2 separate regions of the Homo sapiens genome follow, and region 1 is linked to region 2. Evidence: promoter capture Hi-C in 16 types of primary human blood cells and fetal thymus (Javierre and others, 2016). All regions are on one chromosome and are shown on one strand. The core of a region is centred on a gene start or on the middle of the fragment in contact, and the rest is flanking DNA. Distances in the headings are between cores, read along the strand shown. Region 1 holds the start of UTP6 (UTP6 small subunit processome component). Region 2 overlaps RAB11FIP4 (RAB11 family interacting protein 4).

Region 1 (6,959 bases), core at 1,487-3,986, 420 kb before region 2:
GAATCTGGGAGGCTGAGGTTGCAGTGAGCCAAGATCACGCCACTACACTCCAGCCTGGGCAACAAGAGCAAAACTCCATCTCAAAAAAAAAAAAGCTAAATTTCAAAATAAGGGAGGATCGCTGGGCGTGCTGGCTTATGCCTGTAATCCCAGAATTTTGAGAAGGGGAAACAAGATGATCACTTGAGGCCAGGAGTTCAAGACCATGGTGACAATACAGTGAGACCCTGTCTCTATTTACAAAAACAAAAACACCATCCTCGGCAACATAGTGAGACCCCTGTCTCTACAAAAAAGAAAAAAGGAAAATTAGCCAGGTGCGGTGGGGCACACATGTAGTCCCAGCTACTTGGGAGGCGGGGGTGGGAGCATTGCTGGAGCTCAGGAGGTTGAGGCTGCAGTGAGCTGTGGTCACACCACTGCACTCCAGCCTGGGTAATATAGTAAGACCCTGTCTCAAAACAAAACAAAAACGTAATTAGGCCGGGCATGGTGGCTCACGCCTGTCATCCCAGCTACTCGGGGGATCGCTTGAACCCAGGAGGTGGAGGTTGCAGTGAGCCGAGAGCGCACCACTGCACTCCCCATTAGGCAACAGAGAGAGGCCACCAGGCCCAGCTAATTTTTTTGTATTTTTAGTGGAGACGGGGTTTCTCCATGTTGGCCACGCTGGTCTTGAATTCCTGACCTCAGGTTATCCGTGGCCTCGGCCTCCCAAAGTGCTGTGATGACAGGTGTGAGCCACAGTGCCTGGCCAGCGAGGCTCGGTCTTAAAAAGAACAACAAAACAAAACAAAACAATATAAAGGAGGAGCGTATTTATAGTTAGTTTGATTTAAAAATTGGGCGGGCGCGTTGGCTCACGCCTGGAGTCCCAGCACTTTGGGATGCTGAGGCGGGTGGATCATGAGGTCAGGAGATTGAGACCATCCTGGCCAACATGATGAAAACCTGTATGTACGAAAAACACAAAAATTAATTGGGTGTGGTGGCACGTGCCTGTAGTCCCAGCTACTCGGGCGGCTGAGGCAGGAGAATCCTTTGAACCAGGGGAGTCGAGGTTGTGGTGAGCCGAGATCGCGCCACTGCACTCCAGCCTGGTGACAGAGCGAGACTCTGTCTCTAAATAAATAAATAAAATAAAATAAAATAAAAATCATGGTTAATTTATGAAGGTCTCTATCAAATTTACTTTGAAATGATTACAGTCTGTCATAACTTGCTGACTTCCTTGTACCTAAAGAAATTTAGCAAGTACCTTTTCTTAGTGTCATGCATTTATTAACTGAGTACTTATTATATGGTAGGCACTGCTATAAGCTGTAGAGTATCTAGCCAGTCAAAAAGGAAAAAATTCCCTGCCCATATGGAGTTTACTATCTAGTGTCATCTCCACTCTTACTGTTAACACAGCCCCAGAGATTTTACTTTTACAAATAAATTCTATCTTTGTCTTACATTCGTGATTTCCTTCCACTTCTGACATGTCTTACAGCTGAAGGATTCAAGAAATGGTGTAGCACAAGCCAACCCTCGTCTCAGTTCTGAGATGAGTGGGTAAAATGTGAAAGGAAAGAAAGAAATGCAAGGCACAGAGGTGGAACATGGTTTTGCTGAGCCCATTCTCCTTTCATAAATCACACACAGGATCCAGGTGCTAATGTGAATGTTGAAATAAGCAGATTTAGCAAGAACTGCTGCTTTGGCTTTTTTATATCCAGAACTAAAAAAGAACTGAACCATGTAGTTATCATTTGAGGTTTACTAACTATACCAGCAATATTGCCTCCAAGCTGTGTTGCCTGGTGTTTCTCTTAGAAATGCTAAGTTGCTTGGGCAATGGTTTAAGGAGGGTGTCTATACCTTAGTGATTTATTTTGGTAATTCTCAAACTTTTCAATACAAAAATCTCCTTTTCTAAAAAGAATTTATAGTGTCTGATATTCACCTAGGGACATATATTTTGAAAGCTATTGCTTACAAAGACAGGATATTGATTTAAATAATAAACAATTCTATTTTATTTATTTATTTATTTAGAGACGGAGTTTCACTCTTGTTGCCCAAGCTGGAGTGCAATGGCGCGATCTCGGCCTCCCAGGTTCAAGCGATTCTCCTGCCTCAGCCTCCCGAGTAGCTGGGATTACAGGCGCGTGCCAGCACGCCCAGTTAATTTTTTTGCATTTTTAGTAGAAACGGGGTTTCATCATGTTAGCCAGGATGGTCTCGAACTCCTGACTTCAGGTGATCTGCCCGCCTCGGCCTCCTAAACTGCTGGGATTACAGGCATGAGCCACCGCGACCGGCTTTCAAAAATGTTTAATTGTACAATATCCTCCTCCTTTGCTTTTTTTTTTGTTGTTGTTCTTGGTGTTGGGAAGTCAGGACGTGGGATGGGAGACAATATTCTGAAGAAAATGCATCTCGTGTCCCTTTCAGGCTTGAGCAGCCCACCTCTCTACACCTGGAGGCGCTTTTCCTGATGGCTGTCCAAGTCTAGCGGCGCGCGCACTTAACCCCTCCCTCCCGTCTAGCCCCGCCCCTCAACTCCTGTCCGCTAGAGTCGTCCTGCCCAAGACCAGGGCGGGTTCTCGCTGCAATCCCACAATCGGCCACAGGGAGGGGACGGTGGCTGTAGAAGCCGAAGGGCCTTCCCCTAAGTAGGAGGTGGCGGAAGCGGAAAAGGCGGGACCTAGGGAGCACGTTACGTCCGGACGCGTCGGTGGTAGGGCTGGGTCTCCGAACCTGAAACCGGGAGCTTCCTGCTCGTGTTCGCTGTTGAGAAGCTACCCGCGGGGTTGTAGACCTCGGACCTCATGGCAGAGATAATTCAGGAACGCATAGAAGATCGGCTCCCGGAATTGGAACAGCTGGAGCGCATTGGACTGTTCAGTCATGCGGAGATTAAGTGAGAGAGGGTTGGGGAGAGGGAAGAGCTGAGGCGGCCTGAGGGGAGGTTGGGAGTGTGTGGCAGGGGCTAGATGTGGGGACGCTCGACCTGTGTTTACTTTTCCTAACGTGGTGGAAGCCCATTTCTCGTTTTCGGTGATGTCCAGAATTAATTTTTCATTCGTTGCAAGGTAATCCGTCCGTCTACTTACCCATCAGACGTTTTGACAGCCCTTCATGGAGCCGGGTCTTAGGGCTGTAAAGGTGATAAACCCAGGATTCCTGCTCATTAGGAGCTAATTGGGCAGAGTGTGGTGGGGGAGACAGACAAATTAAATATTTTGATAACAGTGTACTGTAAGTTGATTGTAGTACCTTGTACTGCTGTAGGGATGGGAACAGAGTGCTGTGAGAGCCCAGGGGGAGTGGATAAATTCCTAACTAGACTTGAAGGTGGGGACCATTGAAATCAGTTTCATATGCTACTCCAGAGCCTAACTACAGCGCCTGGCACATGGTAGACATTCAGTAGCGTGTTAAAATTATGTTTAATAGTTTTTAATGGTTTCTGTGACTGTTGCTTTGTTTTGCAACGTCTGAATGTAGTAATGTGACTCAGAGCTTCAAAGTAAGCATTCGTTAATGAAACACAAAACAAAGCAGTGTGGACGCTTAGAAAGTGCTCAGTTAAGGTTAATGTTACCATTACTAAAGACACCTGTCTTGCACATCTTGCATTAAATTCTCCTAATATATATTTGTCATATGTTCATTCCTTAGCTAAGGACTCTGAATCTTCTCCCGTAAGTCCTTCGTAGTAATAAGTCTTTTAAGGCAGACGCAATTTAGATTTTTAAAAAAATTTACATGTTGAGAACTCAGAAATAAGAGGAATTTCGGAAAGAAATTTATTATTAAAATTTAAGTGACCTGAACTTGGAGTAAAAGAAGTCTTTATTAATACCAGCCAGGCGCTGTGGCTCACGCCTGTAATCCCAGCACTTTGGGAGGCCGAGGTGGGTGGATCACGAGGTCAGGAGTTCGAGACCAGCCTGGCCAATATGGTGAAACCCCGTCTCTACTAAAAATACAAAAATTAGCTGAGCGTGGTGGTGAGCGCCTGTAGTCCCAGCTACTCGGGAGTCTGAGGCAGGAGAATCGCTTGAACTCGGGAGGCCGAGGTTGTAGTGAGCCAAGATCATGCCACTGCACTCCAGCCTGGGCGACAGAGCGAGAAAAAAACAAACAAAAAAAACACCATACATAAATGGTATAAAGTTCTTAATTGTATTTGCTTTGCTGGTGGGAATGTCATTGGTTTTGGGAGTTGATTAAGATGATTTTCCTGAAAGTTTAAAAATGAACCCTTAAGAACACAAAAGTAATTGTGTAAGAGAATACTTTTTTTTTTTGAGATGGAGTCTTGCTCTGTCGCCAGGCCAGAGGGCAGTGGCGCGATCTCGGCTTACTGCAACCTCCGCCTTCCAGGTTCAAGCAATTTTCCTGCCTCAGTCTCCCGAGTAGCTGGGACTACAGGCACGCACCACCACGCCCAGCTAATTTTTGTATTTTTAGTAGAGATGCAGTTTTACCATGTTGACCAGGGTGGTCTCAGTCTCTTGACCTCTTGATCTACCCGCCTCAGCCTCCCAAAGTGCTGGGATTCCAGGCATGAGCCACTGTGTCCGGCCGATAATACTTTCTTATGAAAGATAACTCTAGGAATTTCGTATTTTGAAAAACATGTTTTAAATATATTCAAAATAAACTTAAACGTTTAATTTTTGCAGTTTTCAAGTGAAGTTTAAATGGCTTTCTCCTCAGGGCTATCATTAAGAAGGCTTCCGATCTAGAGTACAAAATCCAGAGAAGAACCCTTTTCAAGGAAGACTTTATCAATTATGTTCAAGTAAGTGTGTAATTAATAATTTCTTTCTTTTTTTCTTTTTTGTTTTTTGGTGAGATGGCATCTCACTCTGTCACCCAGGTTGGAGTGCAGTGGTGTGAATGGTGTGATCTCTGCTCACTGCAACCTCTGCCCTCCAGGCTCAAGCGATTCTCCTACCTCAGCCTCCTGGGTAGCTGGGACCATAGATGCATGCCACCATGCCTGGCTAATTTTTTGGTAGAGACTGGGTTTTGCCACATTGCCCAGGCTGATCTCAAGGGATCCACCCACCTTGGCCTCTCAAAGTGCTGGGCTTACAGGTGTGAACCACAGTGCCCGGCCAATAATTAATAATTTCATTACTTTTTTTTGAGGCAGGGGCTCGCCTTTCACCCAGGCTGAAGTGCAGTGGTGCCATCATGGCTCAGTGTAGCTTCCACCTCCTGAGCTGAAGCCATCCTCCCACCTCAGCCTCTGGAGTAGCTGGGACTACAGGTGTGTGCCAGTATGGCTGGCTAGCTTTTGTGTTTTTTGTAGAGACAGGGTTTCGGCATGTTGCCCACGCCCAAAATGCTGGGATTACAAGTGTTTGTGAGCCACCGGGCCCAGCCTTACTTTTTTTATTTTTGTTTTTGAGACAAGAGTCTTGCTCTGTCACCCAGGCTGGAGTGCAGTGGCGCGATCTTGGCTCACTGCAACCACTGCCTTCCGGGTTCTAGTGATTCTCAAGTCTCATCCTCCTCAGTAACTGGGATTACAGGCGTATGGCACCGCACCCAGCTACTTTTAGTAGAGACTGGGTTTTGCCATGTTGGCTAGGCTGGTCTCGAACTCCTGGCCTCAAGCAATCCACCAGCATCGGCCTCCCAAAGCGAGTGCTATGATTACAGGCATGAGGCATCATGCTCGGTCCTAGCCTTACTTTTTAATCCCTTCACAAATTGATTGATTGGTTGATTAATTGAAATAGAGTCTCTCTGTGTCACCCAGGCTGGAGTGCAGTTGCACAGTCTCTGCTCACGCTCACCGCAACCTCCGCCTCCTGGGTTCAAGTGATTCTCCTGCCTCAGCCTCCCATTCCTTCACAAATTTAAAATCAGTTCTAGAATGATGAGCTTAACATCAAATTTTTTTTTTTTTTGAGATGGAGTTTCACTCTTATTGCCCAGGCTGGAGTGCAGTGGTGCGATCTCGGCTCACTGCAACCTCCGCTTCCTGGGTTCAAGCAGTTATCTGCCTCAGCCTCCTGAGTAGCTGGGATTACAGGTGCCCACAACCACGCCAGGCTAATTTTTGTAGAGACAGCGTTTCACCATCTTGACCAGGCTGGTCTTGAACTCCTGACCTGGTGATCCACCCGCCTCGGCCTCCCAAAGTGCTGGAATTACAGGCATGAGCCACCACGCCCGGCCAACATCAGTTTTTTAAAAAAATTAAAAGAATTCCAGAAACGTTCATTAGATAGATATTTCTGAACAGGAGTAGCATTGGGAGTAGCATTACTCCACTAAGACTGTAGTCCTGGCCAAACTGAACTTACTTTTCCCCTCCTCTTTCTCTCTTGTCGTTTTCTTTCTTTTTTTTTTCTACTGGGTTTGTAGATCAGAGATTGTCAGAGACATAGTGTGTATCAGGACTTCAGCAAGAGATTTGCCTCTTGGTGAGCAAGATAGAGGAGAGTGAATGTGATGAGTGTAGAGAATTGAAAAGTTACTGCTTGTTTATCTATTGTCTGTCCACTTGGAAAGAGGTGTACTGCAAGATTTTTTCATCTTGTAAATGCATGGAAGGTTTGAATAAAGAAAAATTATGTCAGACCAATTTTCCAGTGGGGGAGAATAGCTAATATGTTGGATGACGGAATCAGGATTCAGAAAGAACCAATAACAAGATCACATGTTTATAAGACTAGAAGTTTTGGTTGGGCATGGTGGCTCATGCTGTAATACCAGCACTTTGGGAGGCTGAGGCAGGCAGATCACCTGTGGTCAGGAGTTCGAGACCAGCCTGGCCAACATGGTGAAACCCCCATCTCTACTAAAAATACAAAAATTAGCCGGGTGTGGTGTTGGGTGCCTGTAATCCTAGCTACTCAGGGGCTGAGGCAGGAGAATTGCTTGAACCCAGGAGGTGGAGGTTGCAGTGAGCCAAGATTGTGCCATTGCACTCCCAGCCTGGGAGA
Region 2 (6,896 bases), core at 664-3,163:
CTTTGCTCACTGCAACCTCTGTCTCCTGGGTTCAGGTGATTCTTGTGCCTCCGCCTCCTGAGTAACTGAGATTACAGGCATATGCCACCACACTTAGCTAACTTTTTGTATTTTTAGTAGAGATGGGGTTTTGCTATGTTGGCCAGGCTAGTCTTGAACTGGCCTCAAGTGATCTGCCTGCCTCGGCCTCCCAAAGTGCTGGGATTACAGGCGTGAGCCACCGCACCTGGCCCCCAATTTTTTATTTAGAAAAAAAATGGGAATGACTCTTGGATCCAAAAGCCCTCTCTCGCCAGTGGGGATGTGTCTAGGGGTCTGCACTAAGCTGGCATCTTCTCTGACCACTCCTTCCTCTGCCTCTTCCCACCAAACCCAGTGAAGATGCAGGAGGCCTGGGTTCTGGGCTCTCCCTAACTTTTTGGGCCTCAGACTCCTCCCCTGGAAGAGCTTTTAGCTGGACAGCACATCTTTAGGTCTCTTCCAATTCTGCAACTCTGTGCCAGCCCAGGAGAGGATCTTGGACTGTGGAAACAAGGTGTTTCCCTTGGCAAACACTCCGGTGTTGGTGACTGTCCACTGGCCGGGATGATTTCACCAGCCTGCCCCCGGGGCTGGGTTCTCTTGTAACATCTGGCTGGATGCTGTGCAGACGGGGTGGGACCTGGTCTTATTGACTCTGGAGCCCAGGTTGAGTCTTCAGAAGCTCCAAGCTCTATTTGTGTCAACCTGTGCATGTATAAACAATGGGTTTTCTTACTCATTCAAGCTCAACGAAAGGGGGAAAATGGTGAGAAAACCAGTGTTTCCTCCCTAACAAACAAGCCCCCTGACTCATTCAGTCATCCAAGAAGAGGAGGTGGCAGGGGAGGAGGAAGTCCAGCAAGGTGTTCTTTTGACTTGAATTGGGTGAGAGCAAGGAGAAAAACTTCGTTTTCCTCTACTCTTGGTAACATCAGAGTTACCCAGACAGCAAAACCCAGGCAGCAAAAACAACTCTCCTTTCCCCAAACACCTCACCCTCCCCACCTCCTCCCAGACTTGGGCAGCACAGAGGTCCCACCCTGCGTGCCACTACCCATGTCTCTGATTGGCTATTAACTCAGCTAGAAGCTTTGTAGGAGTGGACTGCCCTTTTTCAGGAGTGGACAACCCTTTAAAGCAGTGGTTCCTAAACTGCACCGCACATCAGGATCACTTGAAGAACTTAAAAAACGCTTGGAATCACTTGAACCTAAAAAAATGTCAATAACATACCCCATGGCAACCTAATCCGAATGTCACGGTGGAAGCCAGGTGTTGGCAGTTTTTAAAGATCCCAGTGATTCTGATGCAGCAGTTTGGGAACTGCTTTGCTAAAGGCTTGCTGACAACAGTGGGTGCTGACATGATCACAGGTGAAGGGATCGTTTGTTCTTTGATTCCTTCATTCATTCTTTAATTCATTCCTTCATTCTTTCATTCATTCCTTCATTCTTTCAGTCATTCCTTCATTAATTCCTTCATTTGTTCAAAACAGTTAGTGCCAGGCTCTGTTCTAGGTGTTGTAGACACAGCCTTGATCAGTACCAAGTCTTGGTTGATTCTTGTGGAGCTGACATTTTAGTGGGAGAAGTCAGATGATGAAACAATAAATTAATGAGTGACATATATAATATGTGCTCTGAAGAAAAACAAAGCAGGGTATGGGCATAGAGAGACCCTGGAGGCAGGGAGACTATTTTCTTTCTTTTTTTTTTTTTTTTTTTTTTTGAGACGGAGTCTGGAGTCTGGCTCTGTCGCCAGGCTGGAGTGCAGTGGCGTGATCTCGGCTCACTGCAACCTCTGCCTCCTGGGTTCAAGCGATACTCGTGCCTCAGCCTCCCGAGTAGCTGGGATCACAGGCACGTGCCACCACACCCAGCTAATTTTTTTATTTTTAGTAGAGAGAGGGTTTCACCATGTTGGCCAGGGTGGTCTCGATCTCCTGACCTAAAGCGATCCACCCACCTCGGCCTCAAAGTGGTGGGATTACAGGCGTGAGCCACCGCACCCGGCCAGGGGGACTATTTTCACTATGGATTTAGGCACCAATTTTTGCTTCAGGAAAGGGTGGCTGTGCACTTGCCTGCTACTCCAGACTTTATCATTTATCCACTCTCTGGCCAAAACAGCCTTTCTTGACCATGCTCAATGTCCTACCTGCTGCCTCCCTGCTTGCCTCTTTCTCATAAGCTCCTCCTTCAGGGCCGAGGCCTGGCATCCTGGCACACAATGTTCTCGCTCCTCCTCCTCCCCAACTGTCAGCAGTAACATCTGACAGGGGCCTGAGTGAGGCAGTAATCTGTCAAGGATCATTTATGTGCAGCCGCCGAGGGCTTGTGGGGTGAGAGGCCGTGTGGAGCAGTGGAGAAACAGTGGAACTCAGGGCCAGAAGACCTGGATTTGAGGCCTGGATCTGCCACATATTGGCTAAAGGCAAGTAACTTCACCGAGCCTCAGTTTCCTCCTCAGTCAAATGGAGAGAGTACAACCAACTTTGTAAGACTGGGAGATGCGTTAGAAGAGAAAAAGTCAAAGACTTTTGCCCCGTGTTTTGCAAATATGAGGACTTTAAAACAATTATCTAGGCCTATATAAACATGAAATCACAATGCATTAAAGCTGGAAGGGATCCCATTTCACCAATGGGAAACAGGCCGAGAGAGAAGAAATGACTTACCTATAGTCACAAAGCTTGCTAACGGCAGATGGACCCACACCAATCCTAGAAAAGGGAGGTGGTTGGGAGTAGAGTAGGTATGCTGTTTTTAGTACCAAACTTTTGGCCTCCTCTGTCCACCAGGCAAACTCCTATTCATCCTTCAAAACTCCACCCAGGTATGATTTCCCAGGTGATGCCTTCCCTGTCTTCTCCAGTGATAATAAATTATTCCTTGGCTTCATGATGTCTATGCCTCAATCACAAGCTGTGTTACTAAGAGGAACACACTGAATTGTCAGGATTGGCCTCCTGTCAGGTCCCCTACCATTCTGCAATTCCTGAGGACAGGGTCCATGCCCCTGGTGTCTTTGGACTTAAGCTCCTAACATGTCTGGCACACAGTAATCACCTGGGGAATGGTTAGGGCCCTGAATGGGACTGAGAATCCCTCACCCACAGACAATGGAAAGCTGAGGACTTGATTTTTGAATTAGCGGAAGCCTTTTCTGAAGTTCCTGAGATGGGCATTTGAAAGGTGAGAGACCTTCTCAAGTCAGGCTGCCCTCTTCCCAGACACATCAGATCTCAACTCTGAAGAAACAATTCCTCTACCTAATGGGAACCTTGGACAAGGGCCCTGAAACCAAGGAGAGAACATTTCCCTGCAGCCTATTGTTGATAACAGCTATGTACTATGTGCCAGCCACTTCATTTCTTAATTTAATCCAACAATCTTGTAGAGTAGATGTTACTGCACTCATGAAACAAATAAGGAAACTGAGGCTCAAGAGGATTAAGTGGTGGCAGAGACAAGATTTGTACCCAGATCTGGCCCACGTTCAGGACTCCCTTCTGCCTCTCTTGTTGCATCACTGGCTTACTTACAGCAACCGGAATTGCCTGGGAAGCAGCAGAAACTAATTGGTAAGGATGATTGAAGACCATGAGCAATTAAAGGCCTCAAGTTCCTCTTCATCATCCTTGGGTTGCAGGTGTCTGCTGTCCAGCTCAGCAGTGTCTCAGTCAGTGGCAGCCCACATCAGGTGTCTATGATTTGCCACATGCACCTCTGCAGTCCTACCTGCTGGCTTAGAGCTGAGGACTGGCCACTACCTGCTGTTGACTTGGCTGCTGCCTCCTGCCCCAGTTCTAAGCCCAGGGAGATGCATCCTGCCATTTCCCTGGCTGCTACCAGATAAGCTAAGCAGTATGAGGCCAGGGCTCCAGGGAGGGAGGGAAGGAAGCAGTATTTGTTGTCTTCAAAGACGTGTTTTGTGGAAACCCCATCCCACTCTGATAGCAAGAAATTGATCTGTGGTCAAATCAGCCGGTGAAATTCTTCACTCCCTCTTGAAGATGTCACAGGCACCTCTGCAGGAGAGAAGCCTCCCTAGCTTTTAACCCCAGGCTTCCTTAAGGCAACTGGGCTTGGACAGGACCCTTCTTATTTAACATTTAACAACACAAGGGATCAGTGTTCTGAGAAGAGCACACCTGGGCAAACAATGCACCAGGCTCCCAACACGCGCGGAAGGCAGACGTTATGTTCATCTTAAAGGTATTTACAGCTGGCCAGGCACGGTGGCTCATGCCTGTAATCCCAGCACTTTGGGAGACCAAGGCGGGTGAATCATTTGAGGTCAAGAGTTCGAGACCAGCCTGGCCAACATAGTGAAACCCCGTCTCTACTAAAAATACAAAAATTAGCCAGGTGTGGTGGTGGTCGCCTATAATCCCAGCTACTCAGGAAGCTGAGGCAGGGGAATCGCTTGAACCCAGGAGGTGGAGGTTGCAGTGAGCCGAGATCTAGCCACTGCACTCCAGCCTGGGTGACAGAGACTCTGTCTCAAAAAAAAAAAAAAAAAAGTATTAACAGCAAATGGCCACATAGCACTTAATATATACAAGCTCCGTTCTAGTGCTTCACATGATATGAGCTCATTTAATCCTCCCGACAACCCTACGAGGCAGGTATTATCCCCATTTTACAGATGGGGAAACTGAGGCTCAGAGAGGTTACTCAAGGACATACAGCTAGTAAGTTGAGAGCCAGGAGTCAAACCCAGGCAGCCTGGCTCCAGAGACTGTGCACCTAGCCGTTATCCTATGTAAAAAAGAGAGGCTCGGTTTTGTATAATAAAATAACTTCCCCAAAGTAACCATCATAGAACCAAGACCATTCATTCATTCACCCCGTCATTCATTTACTCAAACAAGAATCACTGAGCAGAAACCGCAGGCCAGACCTAGTGCTGGCCACCCAGAGACCAAGGAAGAACAAGGTGCAGCCTTGCTGTGGACCTGCCGGCTGCCTGTCCAGGCGCCTCTGACGCCCGCGCTGCTCTTCTCCCCACAGCTTGTCTGGGGACCTGGGGCTCTGCTGTCAGCTTCGCACCCTCCCAGCCGTGGCTTCTCATCTATATCTGATGGGTCAAGGAGGGTGGGCGGGGAGCACCCAGCTTCTCCCCAAGCCCAGGCTCCTTCCTCAGCCCCACAGGGGAGCACTGAGCCCCCCACCAGGTAAGTGCCCCCTCCTCACAGTCGTGTGGTTGCTCCCTGCCTGAGGAACACTCCAGGTGGCAGCCATTAGTCTCAGATTTAGCGGCCTCCTGAGAGGCGGGATGACAGTGGACGATGACGACTCTGAGTCTGTTCTGGGGTTGGAAGGACACACACTGAAGGGCTTGTAACTCCACTCTGAAAGCAGAGTCCCCCGCAATTGTCTCCTAAATTATCTCAGTGATGCTGGGATGAAGAAGTATCCCAAACCACAACACGCAAGCTACCCCACAAAAGACAGAAGAAGGGCTGCAGACTCTGCCCTGTGGAGAAGGTGGTGGGGCTGGGGAGAGGGCGGCTCCCTGGGGCCTGCCCAAGTTTATCCCCTGAATAAACAGGAGGCCACAGCAGACCGGATGGGCTGGTGTCGGGAGACTGGCTGGCCTCCGTGCTCAGTCACAGATGCCTCCTTTGTGCCTCCCCTGCCAGGGCTGGGCTGGGCAAAGGAAAACCAAAGGTGCCCGGCCTCTGGACACGGAGCCACTGTTCCACCCACTTAGGGGAAAACCACGGCCCAGCAACAGCTCTGTGGCTGCAGCCCAGGAGGGCTGAAGGAGCTTCTGTGTTCACGTAGAAACTGGAGAGGCCAGTGCAGTGGGGAGGCAGGCTGCTCATGGGGTGCCCTAAAAAAGAAACCTTTCTTCCAGGCCAGGTCCCCTGTGGTCCCCACTGGATCACAAGGCCACATTCATGGGGTGAAGCCCCCTAGTGCCCCACCAGCCCAGGTTTCAGCCCCAGCTCTGCTATTACTACCTGTAGCTCGTCTAGTCTCTTAGCCTTGGTTTCTTATGTGACCAACAGAGTTAATAGTACACACGAGGCCAGGCACGGTGGCTCACACCTATAATCCCAGCACTTTGGGAGCCCGAGGTGGGTGGATCCCTTGAGGTTAGGAGTTTGAGACCAGCCTGGCCAACATGGTGAAATCCCGTCTCTACTAAAAATACAAACATTAGCTGGGCGTGATGGCACGTGCCTGTAATCCCAGCTACTTGGGAGGCTGAGGCAGGAGAATCACTTGAACCCAGGAGGCAGACATTGCAGTGAGCCAAGATTGCACCACTGCACTCCAGCCTGGGTGACAGAGGAGGACACCGTATCAAAAAAAAAAAAAAAAAAAAAAAAAAAAAAGTTCAGTCGATTCTCATTATTTGCAGTAGTTATGCTCTATGAAGTCACTACAAACACAGAATCGTGAATACTGAACCATTGCCCCTAGGGGAAATACTGGTTCAATTCCTGTGAGCCTCTGATCACAACATTTTCATCAAACGATCAATGCATAACCTTGTTTTAAGCATGTCTCTGTTTAAAGACACTATATTTAATACATATTGTTGATTCATTAACATTGAACTCACTGTAGCTCATGCCTGGGCAAAGCTTATCTAACACTCAGTCGTTATTTTCTCCACAAGGCACGTCCCAGCCTTCTTGCATTTAGGAACACTAGACAGCCTTTGGGGGCCATTTCAAATAGCAAAATCGCCAAAAAAAAAAAAAACCACACAAAAATGCAGAAAACGTGGCACTAACTAGACCGTGAAGAGGACACTTGTTTACAGTATGAGAGCTGAAACAAGAAGGCCGCTTGTCGCCTTGTTTGACCTCAGCTGGGAACATGCACGTTGGGCAACTCACATCTTCACCACCGTGA

What was found. Contacts are between HindIII fragments. The CHiCAGO score rates a contact against its expected background, and 5 or more counts as called.
Region 1: the fragment with the promoter of UTP6 here is called in contact with a fragment that was not itself captured in region 2 in 2 of 17 cell types (neutrophils and naive B cells); the score reaches 9.8 in neutrophils.

Annotation. Positions count from the first base shown.
Region 1 is chr17:31,897,485-31,904,443 of GRCh38, reverse strand. UTP6 (UTP6 small subunit processome component) reads left to right here and starts at 2,736. Exons shown (of 19, transcript NM_018428.3): 1 at 2,736-2,908; 2 at 4,714-4,798. The coding sequence starts at 2,817. RefSeq lists enhancers at 2,742-2,791, 2,477-3,068, 3,112-3,261. The HindIII fragment of the contact is 12,725 bases long and covers 1-6,959 here.
Region 2 is chr17:31,475,647-31,482,542 of GRCh38, reverse strand. The region is part of intron 3 of RAB11FIP4 (RAB11 family interacting protein 4); the gene reads right to left. Among named protein-coding and RNA genes, the nearest start is that of MIR4724, 56 kb to the left of the region's middle. RefSeq lists an enhancer at 5,400-6,216. The HindIII fragment of the contact is 1,602 bases long and covers 1,113-2,714 here.